Linked DNA regions of Homo sapiens: regions 2, 3, 4, 5, 6 and 7 are each linked to region 1. The links are contacts of gene promoters, found by promoter capture Hi-C in blood cells and fetal thymus (Javierre and others, 2016). All regions are on one chromosome and are shown on one strand. Each heading gives the region's core, a stretch centred on a gene start or on the middle of the fragment in contact. The rest is flanking DNA. Distances are from core to core; before and after follow the strand shown. Region 1 holds the start of MSL2 (MSL complex subunit 2). Region 2 overlaps ATXN7 (ataxin 7). Region 3 holds the start of OXSR1 (oxidative stress responsive kinase 1). Region 4 overlaps SERPINI1 (serpin family I member 1). Region 5 holds the start of EIF4A2 (eukaryotic translation initiation factor 4A2). Region 6 has its middle 23 kb from the start of GPR15. Region 7 has its middle 2.1 kb from the start of ARL6IP5.

Region 1 (2,710 bases), core at 112-2,611:
CGTGCCTGTGTACATATGTAACATGTGCCACAATAGATTTACACGCATCATAATTTTCACTTTGCAAACGTATAGAGTACCTACTGTGCATGAAAAATTATGCTGAGGAGCTTTGGTGTGTACAGAGATAAGAAATGCTTCCTATGGCCTGTTACTATTTGTGCTACTCAAAAAAAGGTTTTGTACTTTGAGATGGGAGGGAAGTCATCTACTAAGTCAGGCTTTTGTTTATTTATATCCCAGTGCCCTTGATCTCCTGCAAAAACAAAAGGCAAAAGCTTGTTTTAAAAAACAAAACATTTGCAAGGATTTGGGTTTGTTCTAGAGCAAGATCACGCATTCTTCAAGACATCTGTTCACACAGAAGAGCTAGGTCTTTTAAAAAAGCTAGGTCTTTCAAAAAAAAAAAAAAGGAGTTCGTTTTGTTTTTAAAACAGGACTCTGTTCCGGTGAGAGCTCGGTGAAGTCCTGATCGGCACCCATGAAGGTGAGGCCGCACGAGTCCAAGGGCCAGAGGCCGTGGGAACAGCGCGGGTCCGACGGGTAGGAGGGGGCAGTGGGTTCGAGCCTCCACGCTTACATACAGCCTGCCAGGGCCTTAGAGCCCTCTGACTGCGAACCACCGCAGAGAGGTGCGGAACGCGGCCCCGACCCGGCAAAAGCCGTCCGCACGCCTGCTGGGCGCGCAGCCACGTTGACTACTGCAGCCTTCCCGGCTCGGCGAGAGCCTGCCAGCCAGCCGAGGCTGCGCCCTTTCCGCGGTCGGGATGAGCGGTTCCAGGAGAAAGGCCGCGAGGGCGGGGCTTGGGGCCTGGCGCGGCTATTTCCTCACACCGCGGTCAGTCAGGACGAGAGGCCGCGTTCAGGCCAGTGCAGAGCGCCACATGGCGCTACCAAGTCGGGCCCCGGCGTTGGCGGGCACAGAAGCAGTGTAATGCGGGAAGCCTGCAGCCCACACTGGGGAAGGATGTGCCAGCTAACGAATGTTTCACCACAGCCCACATGCCTGGGAGAGGGAATTTGAGAGCACGTGGGGGAGGGGCGAAGAGAGCTGTCGGCTCGCAGAGAGCATGCTCCATTCTGAGAGTCGAAGTGGAGAGCCAGGCATGCGCAGTGAGCCCAGGGTGGGTTGGCAGCGGTGAGGGACTGGCGCGAGCAGGCTGATGTGTTTATCCGGTTTTCTGGGTGGGCGGTCAAAGCGCACGCGGAAGGGCGAAAGGCGGCGGAGCTAGGTAGCAGCTTGCGCATGCGTGGAGTGAGCCGGTAGCTCTGGGAGGCTGTGGAGGGGGTTGTTAGAGGAGAAGCAAGGGAAAAGGGAAGCGAAGGGAGAGGAAAGGGGGGAGGGGTGAGAGTGTGCTCTGCGCATGCGTGCGAGCGCTAGCGACGACGGCGGCGGGGGAGTCTCGGGGATGACAGTGGCTTTGCCCGTTGGGGTAACGGTCGTCGTCGCCGCCAGCAGAGGCCTGAGGCGCCACACAGCCCGCGGGATCCATTAAGGCCGCAGCAGCCCGGGCCCTACCGAGCTGGAGTGGCGCGTGGAGTCGGGGTGAGGGCGGCGAGGCACGGGGGAGGGGCCTGCGGCGGGGCCTTGCTGTGTGCGCTGGGCGGCGGCGGGGCCTGGCGGTGTGAGCGCTTGCCTTCCGCGGCCGGGGAGTGCTGAGGGCGGCGGCGGCCGTCGTGCTCGGCGGAGGAGTCGTCTGTGTGTGTGGCGCCGAAAAAATGGCCGGGCAGTGAGGGGGCGGCGCTTGAGTCTGGTGACCCCGGAGTGTGCGACTGAGGCGCGAGGGGCGCCGCCGCGGCCCGGCCGGGCTTGCCCCCCGCCCCCTCCCGCCCGCCGGCGGCGGCCCGCGCACTTCCTCCCCGGCCTTCCCCTCCGGGTTGAGGACTCCCGCCCGCCTCGCCACCTCGGGGAACTGCGGGCTGCAACCCACGGGGCGGAGAGCCAGGGCGCAGTCTGGGCCCCGCGTCCGATATGGAGAGCGCGGCGGCGGCGTCCGCCAGCCGCAACATCAACCTTCGTCGCCGCCGCGGCGTCTTGCACTAGATCCGGGAAGCCGCTGCCCGACCGTCGTCCTTGCCGTCGCCGCCGCCTCCGCGCCCTGTACTGGGATGGAGTAAGAGGCCCTGCAGCCCGGGAGAAGCGTGCCGCGCCTCAGACGGGGCCGGGGCCTGCTCCCGCGCCTGCCAGCTCGACTTGAGGAGGCGCCTCCGTGTCCGGAGATGGAGCTCGAGTGCAGGCCGCCTGCCGAGCCGCGGGGCTAGACTGAGCTCCGAGTCCCGCCCCGAGCGCCCAAGCCGCCGCGTTCTGCGCTCTGTGGTCGCTCCGGACGAACTCGAACGCTGGTTTCTCTCTCATATTTTTGGTCTGGAAGTCTCAGGGACGGAGGGGCGCCAAGGCCCCATGTGTGGGAGGATTGTTTCAGCTCCACAAACTTGCACGGATTTTGGTTACTTGTTTGGCCAATGGTTCGGCTCTGATTTCTTCCGAATTGTTGCAAATTCGCCATCGTTCCCTGGCTGCTTACTAAGTTGGATCCGGAATTTCTTTTCAACCGGGAGCCATTGGTGTCGAAGTGTCTGCAATGAACCCCGTGAATGCTACTGCTCTCTACATTTCCGCGAGCCGCCTAGTGCTCAACTACGACCCCGGAGACCCCAAGGCGTTTACTGAGATTAACAGGCTCTTGCCTTACTTCCGACAGTCCCTTTC
Region 2 (2,965 bases), core at 423-2,922, about 72 Mb after region 1:
CCGCCGCCGCCGCGCGGCGCGGCTCCCCCCTGACGTCATCCGCGGCCCGCTCCGACATTCTTTCCGCTCCTACAATGTAACAAAAAAAAGGGGGAAAGAGTCGCGCGGGGGCCGTTTTTTAAGGAGGCGCCAGGGAGTTCCGGCGGCGTGCGCGGCCCGCGGACCGGGTGGGGCACGCTGACAGCGCCCCCATGGCCGCCCAGCCCCCCGAGCCCGCCTCCTCAAGGCCACCCCCCGCCCCGGGCTCAAAGTCCGCGGCGCGGGCTAGCTTTCGCTTTCGACTCCCGCGGCCGCCCGAGGGAGGGGACGGGCAGCAGGCGGCCCGCCACCGCGGCGCTGGGTCCCCTGCCTGCTTCTGCTCAGAGGACCTGGCGCGGAGGCCAGCGCCGGAGCGGCCCGGCTCCAACCCCGCGCCCCACCATGGCAGCCCGCGCGGGGAAGCCCGAGCCGCACCCCAGGACCTCCAGCTGCCCACCCTTCGGCCGCTTGCATCCCCGGGCCCGGCCCGGCTGCCCCGCTCCTTCCTTCCGTCCGCGCGTCCGTCCGAGCGGCGGCACCCGGCCGGCTCCCTTAAGCGGAGACGCCTCCCGCCGCCTCCTCCCACTTGCCGGTCCCTCCCTCTCAGCTCGCTCCGGCGAAGTTTGCACGTCAAGCCCCCGGACTGGAGCCAGGGCGAAGTCGGAAATGCAGCCACCTATGGAGGAGCCGGCCGGCCGGCCCCAGGGCAGCGCGGGAGAGGCTGGTGCAGGGGGCACTTTGCCCTCGGCTTGCGGGCGGCCGCAGAGTTGTCAAAAGCATGAATGGGAAGCCGCCGCAGAGCGGACTCCGGGCGTGCAGGGAACCTTGGGCTAGCGGGGAAGTGCCTCCCAGGTGTCTGCCCAGGTGTCAGGACGAAGTACCGTGTGCACGCCACGCCGCCCACATGTGTGCCCCCGACCCGCAATTGGAAGTCACACTGTGCGCCTGGGGAACTTGAATTCGTCCAGCAAAGAGAGAACATGAGATCAGTGTGCGAGGGAATGGAGGAGAGTGAAACAAACCGAGAGAAGCTTTAACCCGTGTACATATTTTAGAGGCACCACCCCAAGTTTCTGGAAGTGATTCATTCACCCCAAAAGTAAAAATCTGATTCATTTTTAACTTGAGTTGTTAGTCCTTCCCTCTTTATGGTTGTCTTTTCTTGGGCAGGACGAGACCCTAGGGATTAGGAGAATATAAGGAATTCCTACAAAACATGTTTAGAAAATACTGTTTTCGGTCAAATTTTGTTCACTAAATTAAGCATTGGCCCGCAAAACTTAGCACCCCTCCCCAACATACACAACATTTGCTTAGCGATAGGCTACAGATGGCAAAATAAAAGGCTACTTAATGACCTAAAGCATTAAAAATACTTGAAACAGTAGCAGACCACACCACTTTCAATAATTGTTGATATTACTATTTTCTCAAATTGATGTGAAAATTTGAAGCCTGAGACAAAAACAGTGATTCTTATCAGCATGTTTCACGCATGTTTCACACTGCAGTAGTATCAACTCCTGTAATGTGTGTCAGAGATGCTTGCTCACAAGTGCTTTCTCTGACTAGATGGGGAGGAAGTGGAATTCTTTTTTTTTTTGTACCTCAAACATCTGATGTGACAGAGGTAGCCAACTTCTTTGTTGGTCCAACTTGCAGAAACACAGGAAGTTTACATAAGCATAAAAATTAATAAAGAAATGTCACTGCAACCCAAACATAAGGTGGGATTGCTAGAGAGGGTTTGGGGTTCAAAATTTAAAAGCGCACACACACACACATACTTACACATACACACACACACACACATTTTTATTTTAGAAAGATTTAGAAATAAGTCTGTAAAATTTTTTCCTGGATTGCGTGCAAACAAGTCCAAAAAGTGAAACCATGGTTACTTCCTGTCCTTATCAAAATAACCAAAATAGTAGAAATGATTGGAAAGATTTAATTTTAAAAATCATTTCTACAGCTTTAACTTCCTCCATAAGACTATCAATGAGAAAAATGCACAGGAGTAAAACATATAATTCCCTTGACAGGAATAGAGTTCCCTTCTAACTTTTAACATAGCTTAGATGACCCCTATGCAGATTTTCAATTTTTCATTCATTCCAAATCACTGCAAAATCTGAATAATTACATGAAAACACCCAACCTCTGTTTTCCTAAAGTACACAATTTATTACTTGGAATTGTGAAATTCTACACTTAAGAAAAACGAAAATTTGGATTTTAACGGCATTTGAAGCTACCATTGAAAAGAAAAGCTTGCGGCCACCAAGCCATATAGATAACAAAGGGAGCTTGCTTGTTGAGTACAGCTCTTCAGATCCCTGAAACTACAGAGTGAGAACAAAAATAAGGAGAATGGCAAACATGAAGTATGGTCCTACTTCCTCAAGACATTGCTTGACTTTCCTCTTTTGGATGTGAAACTACTTCAAGATTCACTAATATGACTTCTAGCCAATGGGGATCAATGCAGCAATTTAGAGTACTTCAACTTCTTTCCCAATTCCTGCTTGATACCTCTTTTTTTCTTCAAAGTTTTTGATTGGTTTAATAAAACACAAGCGGGCTTAAAATGAAAAATATTAAGTATCCTCTTGGCATTATGATCGTTATTAAGGGAAATTATTACAAATAGCAGTTACCAATTATTGAGTACCTCAATACTCAAAACTAATAGCAAGCTATCAATTATTGAGGAATCTCATAAATAAGCACTATAAATAAGTGTCTTATATTAAACTGAGCAATTCAGCTCAATCCCTTAGGAAACTTACTATCAAACTGAAGAGGATGTGCAGACAAGAGATTGACGGGCATTTCCTGGTATTTCTTCAACCAGTTCTCTTTTGCTGCAGCCAATGCATTTTACCCACTCTTTCTTCACCCATAAAAAAGTCCTAACTCCTAGAAATGTTCTGATATCCATAGT
Region 3 (2,700 bases), core at 32-2,531, about 98 Mb after region 1:
AAATTTTTTTTTTTTTTTTTTTTTTTTTGAGTCAGAGTCAGGGTTTGTCGCCCAGGCTGGAGTGCAGTGGCGCGATCTCAGCTCACTGCAAGCTCCGCCTCCCGGGTTCAAGGATTCTTCTGCCTCAGCCTCCCGAGTAGCTGGGATTACAGGCGCGCACCACCACACCCAACTAATTTTTGTATTTTTAGTAGAGACGGGGTTTCACCATATTGGCCAGGCTGGTCTCGAACCCCCGACCTCGTGATCCGCCCGCCTCGGCCTCCCAAAGTGGTGGGATTACAGGCGTGAGCCACCACGCCCAGCCCTTCTTACTTCTTTTTGTCTTCTTATTTAATGTCTACCTCCCCGACTGGAAAGTCAGTTGGAAGGAGTCGTAAGTTGGGTCTCGGTTGCTCAGCGCGGTTCCTGCAGCTTCACCTGGAGGATCCCCAGTTCGCCCCAGCACGGATGGAGGAAAAACTTAAAGCTCCCTATCTATCCCACAATCCCAGAAATCGATGGCTGTGCCCACTTCAAGATCCCATTTCTCACACAGCCTCGGAAAGGCCTGTCCCACACCTGCACTTTCTTTCTCTACAAGACACATGGGCCGCTCCTGTCCACACATTTGAGAATCCTGTACACAAATCTCTCCTGAGCCCCCTCAAGCCTCACCCCACCCCACGCCACCTCACAGGCGCGCGCCTCAAAACCCCCTTCCCGTCTCACACGCGCTCCTCGACACAAGCGTCCTACAAGCCCCCAGCCCCACAAGCGCCCCACGAATTCCTATGAGGGCTGCGCTCCCCGAGCTCCCGCGGCTCCCCACGTTCCCGTGTCCCCCGCCTCCCAGCGCCGCGCCTCCCCCCTCCGCAGCGCCTGCTCTCACCGATCACCTCCTGCAGCTCGTAATCGTCCCTGTTGATGGACCAGGGCAGGGCGCTCGAGTCCTCGGACATGACGGCGGCAGCGGCTCGCGGTCCTCCCTCAAACTCGCTGACCTCGCTCGTCTCCTCGCCGCGCGTCTCCCCACCCCCAACAGCCGCCGCCGCCGCCGCCGCGCCCCCACCAATCGTCTCGGAACAGCCACGGGTCGGACGGCGCCGGGGCGCGGGGTCACCGCGCGGCAGAGCAGCGGGGGCTCAGAGCTCCGGCGGACCTCGCCTCCTGCTCCTCCGAGTCCGGCACTGCCCGGCCCAGCCCACGTCCTGTCCTCGGCCTCCGCAGCAGCAGCGACAGAAGCTTTGCCTGGGCCCAGCCCCTCTGTCCCGCCCTCCACCCCAGCCCCACGCACGGGCCAAACTTTCCCCTCTTCCTCCACCTGCCGACACGCAGCGCGCTGACGTCACTGCGCTGGTCACGCCCCACCTCGGGCCCGCCTCCGGCCGCCATCTCCAGTGTGGCTGGATGTAAAGTGAGCAAGCTAGAAACCCGAGAAGGTAGGAGTTCGCGGTGAAAGGGAAGAAGTGCTTAGGTAGAGGTTCATCGAAGGCATCGAAAAGCCGTAGGAGAGCCTCAAGTAGCACAGAGGCAGTAGCCACACTAAGCATGGCGACCAAAGGGCAGCAAAGTAGAAGGGGCAGAGCCACTTCTAGCGCCTGGGGCACGCTGCTGTCTCCGTCGTCGCATTCATTGGTTTGTTTGAGAAGGAATCAGAAAAGCAATGGGTGTGGGTAGACGTCAGTCATAAATTGGTCCCGCCTCCAGGCTCTTAGCGCGCTTCTCCGTGTTAGGGCTGCAGCCCTTCAAGAGCTCCGTTACCGCGCTCGTCTTACCACTTCCTCTGGAGTGACGTCACGGCGTAACCGTCACACCCTCGAGACGTGCGAAAGGCTCTACAGGGTGTGGAGAAACCCTGAGGGAGCGGCTGGGTGGGGTAGCCTTTGGGTGTGGACCACTGCCAACTAGGATAAAAGGCCTTGGGCCACTGGTCGGAGTGAAACTGGAAGTTTGCCTGGTGACATTTTTTTCAAGGCGGACGTTCTCTCTAACGCTTGTCGCGGCGCTGTCTCTCGCGGGTCCACCCTGCACTGGGCGGGTTCTGTCCATTCGCAGCTTTAGATCTGAAGCTCAAATAAGCACCTGCCTTGAGGGACTCGGGAGGTTGTCTTTCTTCCCCCCGGACAGGGCTTGGGGTATTAAACAAGTGAGATCGACCCACGGATTTGGGGGTTGTCTCACGGGCGTTGGCTTTTGTCGCCCCCACTGAACAGTTTTCTCAGTTTGACTACGTACGGCCGTTAGAGAAATTAGCGAGCTGAAGACTGAACACGCTTGGTAAATTGGATTTTAAAAAATAATGAGCATCCAACAGGGATAGGGCTAGGTGCGAAACTGTTCTAGGTTGGACACCTTTCAGTCCAACGGCAGTCTTTAAGGAAGAGACCTTAGGCCGGGTGCGGTGGCTCACGCCTGTAATCCCAACACTTTGGGAGGCGGAGGCGGGCGGACCACCTGAGGTCAGGAGTTCGAGACCATCCTGACCAACATGGTGAAACTCCCTCTCTACTAAAATACAGAAAAATCGCTGGGCGTGGTGGCTGGCGCCTGTAATCCCAGCTACTAGGGAGGCTGAAGCAGGAGGCGAAGGTTGCAGTGACCCGAGAGCATGCCACTGCACTCCAGTCTGGGCAACAGACGGAGACACCGTCTCAGAAAAAGGAAGAGACCTTCACCTAGGCCCAGCTGAGACGGAGCAGGGACCCCTTTTAGGGCCTG
Region 4 (2,700 bases), core at 91-2,590, about 32 Mb before region 1:
CCAAATTTTAAAGACTAAATTCTTACAGGTTTAAGATTTAAAAAAAAAAAAAAAAAAGAAACAACAAAAAAATCTCTCCCTTATTTGTGTACGTTAATTCTGATCCCAAAAGCAGTGTTTAACCTTTGGAATTTGCTTAATTAAATAAATGGGCTCTTGCTCATCTTAGTGTCTGGTTCAAGTACCTTTATTATTTTAAAGGGGCAAAACATCAGTTTAGGTATTTACTTTTTGATATTTTGTCCAAATAATGTTTCACTTAGAAGTTAGTGTATACAGGTAGGATTTTTATGGTTAATAATCCATGAATATTCAAAATCTAATGAATACCAGTTTGATTCCAGTTAAAATGGCAATTGACTGGAATCAGACTGGTATTCATTAGATTTTGAATATTTATGGGTTATAAAAGCATAAAAAAGGAAGGTTAATCATCCAAAATTTATTCCAGTAAAAATTGCCATTTTAACTGGAATCAGACTGGTATTCATTGGATTTTGAATATTCAATTTTACTTAGAAAAGTAATGTATCCCAGTATGAATACAGGCCTCTACAAATTAATGACTGGGGGAGAAAAGGTCATGGAATCATGGATTATAGGAATTTAACAAAAAATATAAAATCTTTTTTCTCTTTTGCTAAAGGTGTGTTTCTCAAGTAGTTTTCTTTATATCTATTCCCCTGTATCCTTCTTTACCAAAACCATTTGATCTTGAACCTTTAAGTCTTGCTCTTTTGTGCTGCATGCATCAGTGAATCTTCCTGTTAAAAAGAAATCCATGCTAACTTATTTTTACTCAAAAGGCTTAGAATCAGAACTCTAAAGAAAAGACCAAAGGATATGGTAATTTGAAATTAACCAAGGTTTTTGGCTAAAGAACAATCATCCCCAGAGCAATTTCCATTCAAGAGAGACATTCTGCACTCTGTTGCTTTTCCTTTCTCATCATACATATTCACTGATAGCCATACACAAATAGTAAAATTAAAGAGCAAAATAAGTAATATGCTTATAACATGGGTAGCATTTTACACAGAATTATAAACTGCCATATAACGAACGTTTTCAACACCAATCAAGAAAAATCTTCAGATTACCTGAGATTGAATGTGAATATTAACTAACATGAATCAAGAGTGCAAGGTAAAAAATAAATGCCATATATTTCCAATGATATTCTCTCATATAAAAACATGGTCTTTTTTCAAATGATATTGAAACCCAATCTCTTTTACTGACACAGTAAAAAGGATCCAAATCTTGGAAACAGGTGAAAAAAATCAGTACTTTAATACCACAAACTCATTCATTCCTAATCAGATTCTATCCTTTACCGTGTCTCAGAGCAGAAGACCTATAAAGAGCTGAGATTCAAAGTATATCTTAATTTCAACTGTTTAGATATTTATCTTCTATCCATTTGCTTGCTTATTAACTGTTTCCCAATAAAACTCTTTCAAACAGATCTTTTAATAAAGGCTCGGAAAGAATTTCATTGGTAGTATTATAATTATTACATAGGGGAAATAACCCAGCGACAGCAATTATTCAGTTTTACAAAATGAATTAGTAGTAGGGTCTGAGAAAGAATCTAAGACTGATTCAAGACAATCCACTTAATCACAAATAACAAGGGCAAACACAGTCTTTTCCATGTGTCACCCTAATACCCACTTTTTTTTTTACCCCCAAAATCATTTTCACAGGGCCATATCAGCTATGTGAATTAATAGATTCTCCAGTGCTGTAGCAAAGATAAAACCTGATCCTTATAGTGGTTAAGTTTAGCAGCTACTGTTGCTTTTTCTTTCTTCTAAGCTCTTTGCTGTTTTTGATACTTAGCTGATTTGCTTAGGGGTAATTAAAAAGCAGCTGTTTTTCTATGATCTATCTGTCTATATATTTCTATGGTATGTGAGAGTGTGGGAGGGAAGAGTATACACACTGAAAAGTCACTTAGGCTTATCGGTAGTAGCACTCAGTAGGACTGAACTTTAATCTGGGAAGAGAATTCATTTGAGCCATTTCTTTTCAAAAAGAAATTTGGGATGCATTACAAAAATAAAATTTAAAATCCCGAGAACTCAGGAAAGCATAGAAATAGGAGAAAACAAGACAATTACTCCATTTTATTGACCCTGGTTATTAAAAAAAAACATAAAGTATTGAGACAGACTCTGAAATATGCAACTGTCACAATGAAAGCATTTCAGAGCAAAATTTGCTGCAATATGCTACTATGATTAAAAGCCATGTAATCTGGGAACCTCTGTAACAAAATGAAAATGAACTAGGAAAATAGCTTCTTACTACTTCTCTAAAAATAAAAGGCTGTAATTTTGTCATAATTACACAAAGGTAGGTGAGACTTTCATCTTTACCCAGCATTACAACTTATTTCCATCCATAGGTATTACAATTAACGTTGCTTTGAATGCACATATAGTTTAATACCGAGAATAAACTATTATTTTATGACACTACATGTGTTTTAAACTGAACCCACTATCATAACACATATTAAGGGTAGTCCTTCAGCACATACTCTCTACCCAGAGAAAAGATTCCCACACAGCTTTCCATGTACTCGTTTTTAAAATGTACACATATTATCGGACACAAATGAGAAACTAACGAGCAGCAGTGAGGTACACCATATGTTTCCATTGTAGGCTGAATCCAGGTCTTTGTTCCAAT
Region 5 (2,730 bases), core at 71-2,570, about 51 Mb before region 1:
CCAATTTATACTAAGTTTTAAATTCTTCACAGTTGTGAAACCTGAAACCTATGCAACACGCAAGCAGTTTTTTTGAACTACACTATCAATACCTGTTGAGCCAGTTCTCTGGTGGGGGCCAATACTAGTGCTTGGGTCTCCTTGAACTCAATCTCCAACTGTTGCAGGATGGAAATAGCAAATGTGGCTGTCTTGCCAGTACCTGACTGAGCTTGAGCAATCACATCATACCCTAAAAAAAGTAGGATACACATTTACCGATCCCACATCAAATTGTCACTTCTACTTCACACCATGTATTCCATTTGGAACATTATGCCCAAATAATCAAGTGATCAGCAATGAGTATTCTCTTCATTTCAGGTCAGTCCCGAAAGATGATTGCCATCATTTCACTTTAAGGAATACAAACAGGTGCTAGTCCCCCAGAGGTTACTTTCCCTTTTATGGTTCATGTCTATGTAGAACAATTTCCTAAAAATGCCAGTTTCTTTTACCTTTAATACAGGGAATAATAGCTCTCTGCTGAATAGCGGAAGGCTTCTCAAAACCGTAAGCATAGATGCCACGAAGGAGAGACTCCTTTAAATTCATATCATCAAAGTTATCAACAATCTCATTCCAGTTGCTCTGTAAGTTAGAAAAAATAATGCACGCATAAATGAGATGAACACACTCACCTTTCCAAAGCTTCAAGATCCACAACCGTTTCTTACCTCGATGACACCATCGGGGTCCATTCCCTCTGGGCCGCCATGTTCTCTGCTGACAAGAATACTGCAGTCAGACACCCCTTCCAGGCCACCTCAACTGCACCTTAAGCGCATAGCCCTTTGCAACCCGTCTCAGCACGTTAGCCTCCCCTGCACAAGCTAAAGCAGCAGCCTCAGGGCGAATATCCACACTGTGCGCCTTCCCTAAAGGTTGGGGCCTGCGGATGCCCGGAAAGGCAGCCCCCCAGGCCCGAGCGCATGGCGATCCCGTTTCAACTGCGGAGCGTCTCGCGAGAGCTCGGAGCGCCGAACTCCGCCCCCAACAATGCGCAAGCCGGGTGATTGACGCGGGCGGAGCGGCCTGGCGAGGGCGATGCCAACGGTTCACCGGCACCGGTCCTGTCCCGTCGCCTCCGCGCCGTGGCCGAGTGGAGACCGCTGCCTCCAACCCTTCCCCAAGTAAAGCCTAGGACCCTCCCCCAACTCGTGTGGATGACCGAAAATAAAGCTTCGGGTCCTGGTTACAGTGTACCGAACTCGGACTGCGCCACGGCTTTTTACTCCATGTTTCCCGTGCTCTACACTGGGAAGGAAAGCAGCCGAAGTTTCGTAATGTCTTAGAGAGGAAAAACGCCCTTTAGCCACTGCTTTCGCACCACCGTCCTATCTCCCCACAATCCGGGCCCTACCCATCATGGAAGCTTCTGGAAGGGCACAGGAGTGCTGTACCCTAAGAAAACGTCCATTAATTTAGAGTTTTTGCCTCCGTGCCATCCACTATCATCTCCCCTGGCGCCCTATGACCTTCACTACAGACCGCGACCGCCAACAGACTGCATACCTGTTATAATCCGCGGAGCCACCAGACATGATCCGAAAAACCACTCAGCGCCCGACTGAAAAGACAGCGGCGCCCAACCACCCGTTTTTTATAGGCTCGTGGCCGGAACCCGTTTCTTGCGGAGGAATTTTCTCGCCGTGCTTCGGTCAGCTACAAAATTGTGATCCTGGGGTCGTTACCTCGGATAAAATCCTAAGCAAGTTGGTAGAAAAACCCAAATGTGGTAATTTCTCGATATTACAGGGTCGCTGGAAATCCTAGGGCCCGGGGTTGGGTTGGGACTCTTTACCTCGCGGCGGAAGAATATAGCTGCGGAGTTAGTTAAACCTCGCTTTCCCCGCCCGCCCTGCTCCTACGGGGTTTCCGCGTCCCTGACGCAGAGGCGGGCCGGGGGAGCCGCGCCGGAGCCGGAGGCGGAAACCGGAGATGCTGTTCGTCGGGCGGCCGGGGCTTCCCGCGGGTGACAGGTCCCGGCTCGCGGCTCGCTGCCGGCACTCAGGTGCGGGAGGGGAACTCGGTTATTCCGCTTGCTCCCACCGCTGTTTAATTCCACAATGAAGACCTGCCTGGCATTTAGCCCGACCGTTAACATCCATTCAGATCTTGGAAACGTAAAATTCCTGCTAGGGAAAATGTCGGCCACCCAGCGAGTCCCGGGAAGTCCGGTTTACCGGTACATTTTGCAGCGCGAGAAGGAAAAATGGAGTGTCATTTGCAGATGTCTCTGGAGTGGCCAATTCTATTCTCATATCATTTCCGGTCTCTCGCTTTCTTTTTAAGAGTGTTACTGATTTTAACCTAACAGGTGTGAGGAATGCCTGAAAAAAATCATAAACTTTTGCAAATGGATAGAAACTAAGCAGTAATTTTCCTTGGAACGCACGAATTTAAATGGACGCTTTGGCAGATACAGCTCTGTGCCGCTTTGGGACTACATCGGTTTTGATTCCGTCTATATTGGTCATTTTTTAAAGGCTGTAGACTTTGCCGATATATAGTGAAATGTTGATTTATTGAAATTCAGAGCAATAATATCCTTGCTGCGTAAACTGCACGGGTCTTTAAGCTCCAGACGTTTTCAATTAGCCCCATCTCAGGTCTCTCGACAAAAACAAAAAACAATATATGTAGTCATTTAACTTTAAAATACAACCCTACCCATGGTGCAAAATATCA
Region 6 (2,844 bases), core at 87-2,586, about 38 Mb after region 1:
TATGAAAAGACAATGTAGTTTTGCATAGTAGATGAGGGCAGAAATGTTTACTTTCCTAATTACCAGTTACCTCCTGGTCAACAAGTACAATCTGAGATCTTTTTGCTTACGTAGCGCTGTCAATTTCCTTTTTTCACCTGAGATAATCTTTTGTTTCGATAACTGTTTTCATAACCCATGCCGTGTTTTTTCCTCTGTTGTTTTTCTTTTTCTTTTTCTTTCTTTTTTTTTTTTTCAGACGGAGTTTCGCTTTTGTTGCCCAGGCTGGAGTGCAATGGCGCCATCTCGGCTCACCGCAACCTCCGCCTCCTGGGTTCAAGCGATTCCCCTGCCTCAGCCTCCCGAGTAGCTGGGGTTACAGGCATGTGCCGCCATGCCCTGCTAATTTTGTATTTTTAGTAGAGACGGGGTTTCTCCATGTTTGTCAGGCTGATCTCAAACTCTCGACCTTAGGTGATCCGCCCGCTTCAGCCTCCCAAAGTGCTGGGATTACAGGCGTGAGTCACCACGCCTGGCCCCGTTTTTCTATTTTTTAAACTACAGTAATTCTCTTTGATTTAAATATTTGTAAAGATATGTACAATAAAACTATTCTTAAATCATAGGGGAAAACAAAATATGGAGCAATAGAGCAATTCTAAATGAAATGCAAGCCTAAACTACTTTTTTAACAAGCTTTGTAAATAATCACTTGTTTGCAAAGGAGGTGGTGATTCATGTGAGAGGAGTAGAAAGAAAGATTTTGGTCCCTTTGAAATTTTATTATTGTTCTTCTAAGTACATCGTCTAGAAAGAAAGCAAACCAATAGCGTTTTGGAATTGTTTAGTCACTAATTGTATTCCATGAGCATTCTTTCTGGTTCACTGGAATTCAGTGTATAAGTCTGGGGACAAAGTGAAGCTCTGAAGTTATGAGCTTTGGACAGCAGGATGGCGAATTAAGGTGGTGGAAAAGGAAACTTTGATGTTGGAGAAACTGGTGTAGCTCAGAACGTAGAACAGAAAAAGCCAACTATTTGGCCAAAGTATCCATCTTTTAAAGAGATACAGTTTTAATCAAGTGAACAGGTAGGACTTCAGTCTGGGTGTTTATTTTTGTCTATTTATACAAATTCTTTATCACTCAGATCAAAGAGTTTGCATTAGGTAGTATTATGTTTCTATATTTTCTTAAATCAATATACACAATGAATTGTTATTAGATCATAAGAAATGCCAAACTGGATCAGATTTACAATTCATCCACCCAAATCCTACCTGTTTTAGACCAATCCAGGGATATTATGTATGGCGACCTGGTGGTTACTCTCCAGACAATTTTTAAAGTCTAGGATGAGCCTATATACAATGCCTAAAACAGTATCTGGCAAGTGTTTGGCTTGGTAATGGTTGATGTTTGTTGAACAAATGAGTGAAAGATAAAAATCTACCATCATGCAATTATCTACATTCTCCTGAAGCTAATCTTTTGTGTTATGTATCGTGTATGACAAGTCTTTTGTTCTAAGTGTATTACATTGTCTTTTTTCCCTTTTTTCTTTCCTTTCGTTAAAGTGTATTTACATTGTCTTAAAAATTACTTATCTTAAGCATCAAGAGAGTTCTTTTCCAACTTTAGTGTTACAGAATTTGATTTGATTAGTCTTAAAGCATTAGACAAGGAGGGAATGATGTACCCCCTCATTTGATGTGCTCCCCACCCCAGTTGAACCCCAGTCTTACTTGGAAGTGGAAGGATTCTGGCTCAGGTTGTAAACAGTAAACCATAAGAAGACAAACTGTTTTGCAGAGTATTTTTAGTAAGTAGCCTGGCCTACCTAAAGGATAAATGTTAATTAGTTATGATTTCTACTTAACATATGGAATGTTACAAGATTAACAGGAGCAGATAAGAAAGAGAAGCATAATTGATTAGTAATGCTGGTAAAAGGTTAATTACAGGGAATGATCTATTTCTATGAGGTAATGATTTATTACATAGATCCTAACAAAGCTTTTATAGTATATATTAATAGCACTTTGAAAGGCCTGAAGGGACTAAAAGAGGAAGGACACAGAAGCTACTTCCTTTGGCCAACAGAGAATTTGTTGACAGAGAAACTCACTACCATATTTTACAATTTCCAGGAACTGGAAGCAGTTGATTAGCCACATCTGTTGTGAGTATGGGTGTGAAGTGAGGAAGTACTTTGCCATATATTCGCTAGTCCAGTACTTTGCCATATACATATATTTCCTAAACCTTGCAGGAATTTGGCTTATTCTTTTGGGTAAAAATGCAATTAAGAGAAAAGATCTAACTGAAGTTTTTAAATGAAGAAATATACTGGACAGCGCAGGACACACGAGAAGGTCCTCAGATGAAACAACTCTATGCTAAGGCTATGAAAGTTTGACTCCAGTGGCCTTCTGAAACAATGCTGGGAATTTAAGATAGGGCTCTAGAGCTTACTTCCTTCCAGTTTAAATCTAGGAATTTGGTCCATGAGTTAATTTTATTCACACTGAGTGTATCCAAAGAAAAATAAGTTTTTCCTGTATTTCATTAGAAAGAATAACAAGTAGCAAACTTTCAGAACGTTTTTTTCCCCAGTACCTTAATCTCAGGTAGAGGAGCATATTTAAGGAGTCATTTTAGATTAAGATTGTACTCACACCTAACCCACATCAGAAAGTCAGTGTTGTTTTGCATGTGCATTGCCGGAAGAATTTTCTGCCTCTGGCTTCTCCTCAGTGAGGATACACTTTCAACGAACTGTAAGCATTAAGAGAATTGCTTTGGAAAGTACTTCAACTAGCAAGAACTGGGATGACTTCAAAATGTCTTTTACTGGCTTCACGGGT
Region 7 (2,825 bases), core at 158-2,657, about 67 Mb after region 1:
ATTTTCTGGGCAGAAATATGCATTCCACTTCAAAAGTTTTCTTAGTTTTATTGCAATATTTGGTGACAGCTTTCACTGAGGGACCACAATATATTCATAGATAACGTGATGTTTTGTATCCCAGCCCAAAGACCTGGCAAAAGAAGTATTCGTTGTCAATTCTCTTCTAAGCTTCCAAGGGTCATCTTTTTTCAGTTAAGGGGCTGATTGGTACAATGCATGAGAAAAAAAGTAGTTTGTTTAATTGTATAATGTAATAGGTAGAATTCTAAGGTGAAGATTTCTAAGATAACAGAGTCTCTAAGCCCCTAAGTGGCTTAGACAAGGTGAATTCACTCTACTCAGATCACCAATTTTTGAAAACTTGGAAAGTAATGAAATATACTAATGCAAAGTCTAGAAAACATAATTTAATTTTCCTTATTAATTCAGAAGACAGTTAAGGAGCTTACAGCGACTCTAAGAAATTACTACTACTACTGTTGTTTAGGAAAATTTGGTGATTGCATGGAATTAGTGCTAAGATATATCTTATGTGCTGCTTTTTGAATAAAGTTTAAAATGTGAAAATATTCCTGAGTGCTCATGTTTTCTTGATTCTGGAAAAATGGGATGGTGTGAAGTCAGAGAAAGCAAAATTAGAGTCGCAGCTCCTTCCTCTCTGGCAGGTGACTTTGGAGAAACTACTTAATCTCTCCCAGCCTCGGTGTCTTCATGTGTAAAGTGGGGATAATGGAACATCTGCCATATAGACGAGGCTAAGTGAAGGAATGTATAGGAAATGCTTAGTGTATAATAAAGGTTCACAGTTATATGTTACTATTATTGTTATTAGCAATAGGATAGCCCACGATTCTTGTTTGCTATTAATAGTGCTTTAATCTGATTTGTTTTCTATGCTTTCATTATAAACATCTACTAACTTTTCTCTACCTTGCTCCAACTTTATTGTTGTGGATGTATCTGGGTAGGGGGAAAAGGTTGAGAATATTCAGTACAATGCCAGCAAGTATTTCGAGTTCTTTTGAGGCTCTGTGAAAGCACTGTGGGTTTTTTTTCTTTTCTTTTCTTTTTTTTTTTAAAGAGGAGAAAAATGTAATCCTGCTCTGCCTTCAAAACTTCTGCAATCCAGTGGAAACACTAGTTAAATATGAGACAGTAAGAGGAGTGCTAAATAGAGATGCACTGAGCCTCAGTGCTCAGTTACAGGAAGTCAGAGGGTGTGGAGGAATTCCCCAGGGCTTCAGAATGTCAAGAGGCAGCACTGTGGGCAAGCTGAGTAAATCATCTTGGTCAAGATGAGAGTGGGAACTCCAGTGGGGCCCCACACTGTTGGTGAGATTTATGAGTATTAGAAGCTGTAACTAAGAACTTTATCTTCCAACTGCTCAGAACTGCATGACCAAAAGCTGTCAAGAGTGTATTAGTAACAATATGATTACTCCTTGATCACAGGCAATTGATACCCAAGAAAGAATTAAACCTCTTTAGAGGTTTAAACATAAATAAATAAATTCTGAAAAGACAGAGAAAGCTGTTTATAGCATGATTCCCTTCTGTCTCCCTCCCAAAATGTTAACCCTGTCTCTCTCTTTGGGGTATGGGAGATTTTTTTTTTCTCTAAATATTTCTACCTTTGTTAAATTATTTTAAATAAAAATGAACATGTAATGAGTCATTACTTTTTTCCAGTAACTGTTTGAAATGCTATTAGTAGCAGCTCTTTGTTAGTGTTCATTCCGGGGAGGGAGGGGTCAGATTCACTGTAGAGGTCTTTCTGGAGCTTTAATTTATTATTATTTTTAGAGACAGGGTCTCACTATGTTGCCCAGGCTGGTTTTAAACTCCTGGGCTCAAACAGTCCTCCCACCTCAGCCTCCCAAGTAGCCGGGACTACAGGTGTGGGAAGCCGAGCCCTGCTTGATGGGGCTTTTATAATGGGACTGGTGTGTCTAGATAGGACCATTCAGACTATCTGTCTGTTTAAAAACCATAGCAGATAGTCTAATTGTTTATGATATGTTCCATTTGAAGTAAAATAAATCTGTTGAAGGTTTTGCTTGCATGTCTCTGTTGCTTTCATTCCTGGCAAGGGCAGATGGCTATTTCTAATCCGTCAATCAATCTAAGCCAGTGAGAGTGCCTGGTGTCGTTTATCAAAATACCACCATGGTGAGTCAGGCTGTTAGTCTCAAAGCAAGCAGATGCAGGGCCAGATACCTTTGCAGACTTCTTCATCGGCTAGCTGTACTCTATCCCTAGGCCTCAGTTTCCTCCCCTGTGAAATGGGTGAGACTGGACTAGGTGGCCTTTAAGGTGACTGCTGCTTTTCACTATCTGAGAGGGTTGCAATGCTCACTACCACTAATCAAAGGGTATCCAGTATTGTTGGGGGTTCAGGCTACAGGAGCCCATTTTGATAAGCACTGAGGTTAAATCCTCAGTGAAACCATCTGTGGAGTTGTCTGGGCAAGAAAAAGTAGTTTCATAGTTGACGCTGAGACATGTGATGCAGAAGGAGGCTGGTATCTCTTGATAGGGACTGTGAACTCTATTCCCACGCTCACTGCCTGGCATTGACTTTCAGCTCAGTGAATGCTATTGAACTGAACCTAATTGGGGGACCATAAAGGACAAGCTTTCCTTAAGGTTCACTGAAAACTAGGACAAGAGGAGGTTAAATATCACAGTGTAGTAACAGCAGCTACATTTACTGAGTACCCATCAGGCTTTATGTACTCCATTTCAGTGGCCCTCAAACTTTACCAGTGGAGAATCACCCCAGGCTTTGCAGAAGGCTGAAGGGTGGGGTGGCGGGGGGGCGG

Evidence for each region. The method cuts DNA at HindIII sites, captures the fragments that hold promoters and counts their contacts. A CHiCAGO score of 5 or more calls a contact.
Region 2: a fragment that was not itself captured here is called in contact with the fragment with the promoter of MSL2 in region 1 in 1 of 17 cell types (activated CD4 T cells); the score reaches 7.7 in activated CD4 T cells.
Region 3: the fragment with the promoter of OXSR1 here is called in contact with the fragment with the promoter of MSL2 in region 1 in 1 of 17 cell types (total B cells); the score reaches 6.4 in total B cells.
Region 4: a contact is called between a fragment that was not itself captured here and the fragment with the promoter of MSL2 in region 1, in 1 of 17 cell types (non-activated CD4 T cells). The highest score is 5.8, in non-activated CD4 T cells.
Region 5: a fragment that was not itself captured here is called in contact with the fragment with the promoter of MSL2 in region 1 in 1 of 17 cell types (total CD4 T cells); the score reaches 7.0 in total CD4 T cells.
Region 6: a contact is called between a fragment that was not itself captured here and the fragment with the promoter of MSL2 in region 1, in 1 of 17 cell types (activated CD4 T cells). The highest score is 5.2, in activated CD4 T cells.
Region 7: a fragment that was not itself captured here is called in contact with the fragment with the promoter of MSL2 in region 1 in 1 of 17 cell types (total B cells); the score reaches 5.2 in total B cells.

What each region holds. Positions count from the first base shown.
Region 1 is chr3:136,194,986-136,197,695 of GRCh38, reverse strand. It overlaps MSL2 (MSL complex subunit 2), which reads left to right and starts at 1,361. Exons shown (of 2, transcript NM_018133.4): 1 at 1,361-2,710. The coding sequence starts at 2,583. RefSeq lists enhancers at 814-1,113, 1,284-1,333, 911-1,657, 2,284-2,353, 1,658-2,404 and 2 more and a silencer at 1,554-1,943. The HindIII fragment of the contact is 2,546 bases long and covers 281-2,710 here.
Region 2 is chr3:63,909,692-63,912,656 of GRCh38, reverse strand. It overlaps ATXN7 (ataxin 7), which reads right to left. Exons shown (of 13, transcript NM_001377405.1): 3 at 1-69. The coding sequence starts at 58. It also overlaps SCAANT1. Among named protein-coding and RNA genes, the nearest start is that of ATXN7, 47 kb to the right of the region's middle. RefSeq lists a silencer at 1-595 and an enhancer at 926-1,005. The HindIII fragment of the contact is 1,242 bases long and covers 1,052-2,293 here.
Region 3 is chr3:38,164,118-38,166,817 of GRCh38, reverse strand. OXSR1 (oxidative stress responsive kinase 1) reads right to left here and starts at 1,281. Exons shown (of 18, transcript NM_005109.3): 1 at 872-1,281. The coding sequence starts at 941. It overlaps LOC101928234 (a long non-coding RNA gene), which reads left to right and starts at 1,342. Exons shown (of 5, transcript XR_940733.2): 1 at 1,342-1,421. RefSeq lists silencers at 787-836, 887-1,276 and enhancers at 508-1,123, 1,517-1,616, 1,887-2,016, 2,167-2,246, 1,407-2,606. The HindIII fragment of the contact is 1,868 bases long and covers 1,227-2,700 here.
Region 4 is chr3:167,736,469-167,739,168 of GRCh38, reverse strand. The region is part of intron 1 of SERPINI1 (serpin family I member 1); the gene reads right to left. Among named protein-coding and RNA genes, the nearest start is that of SERPINI1, 2.1 kb to the right of the region's middle. The HindIII fragment of the contact is 3,664 bases long and covers 1-2,700 here.
Region 5 is chr3:186,782,464-186,785,193 of GRCh38, reverse strand. EIF4A2 (eukaryotic translation initiation factor 4A2) reads right to left here and starts at 1,617. Exons shown (of 11, transcript NM_001967.4): 1 at 1,555-1,617; 2 at 717-762; 3 at 498-630; 4 at 93-232. The coding sequence starts at 1,583. SNORD2 (small nucleolar RNA, C/D box 2) reads right to left here and starts at 398; the gene lies at 329-398. RefSeq lists an enhancer at 712-941. The HindIII fragment of the contact is 193 bases long and covers 1,224-1,416 here.
Region 6 is chr3:98,553,250-98,556,093 of GRCh38, reverse strand. No RefSeq gene overlaps it. Among named protein-coding and RNA genes, the nearest start is that of GPR15, 23 kb to the right of the region's middle. RefSeq lists enhancers at 1-60, 1-311. The HindIII fragment of the contact is 1,318 bases long and covers 678-1,995 here.
Region 7 is chr3:69,081,439-69,084,263 of GRCh38, reverse strand. No RefSeq gene overlaps it. Among named protein-coding and RNA genes, the nearest start is that of ARL6IP5, 2.1 kb to the left of the region's middle. RefSeq lists enhancers at 1,164-1,323, 2,128-2,187. The HindIII fragment of the contact is 2,467 bases long and covers 174-2,640 here.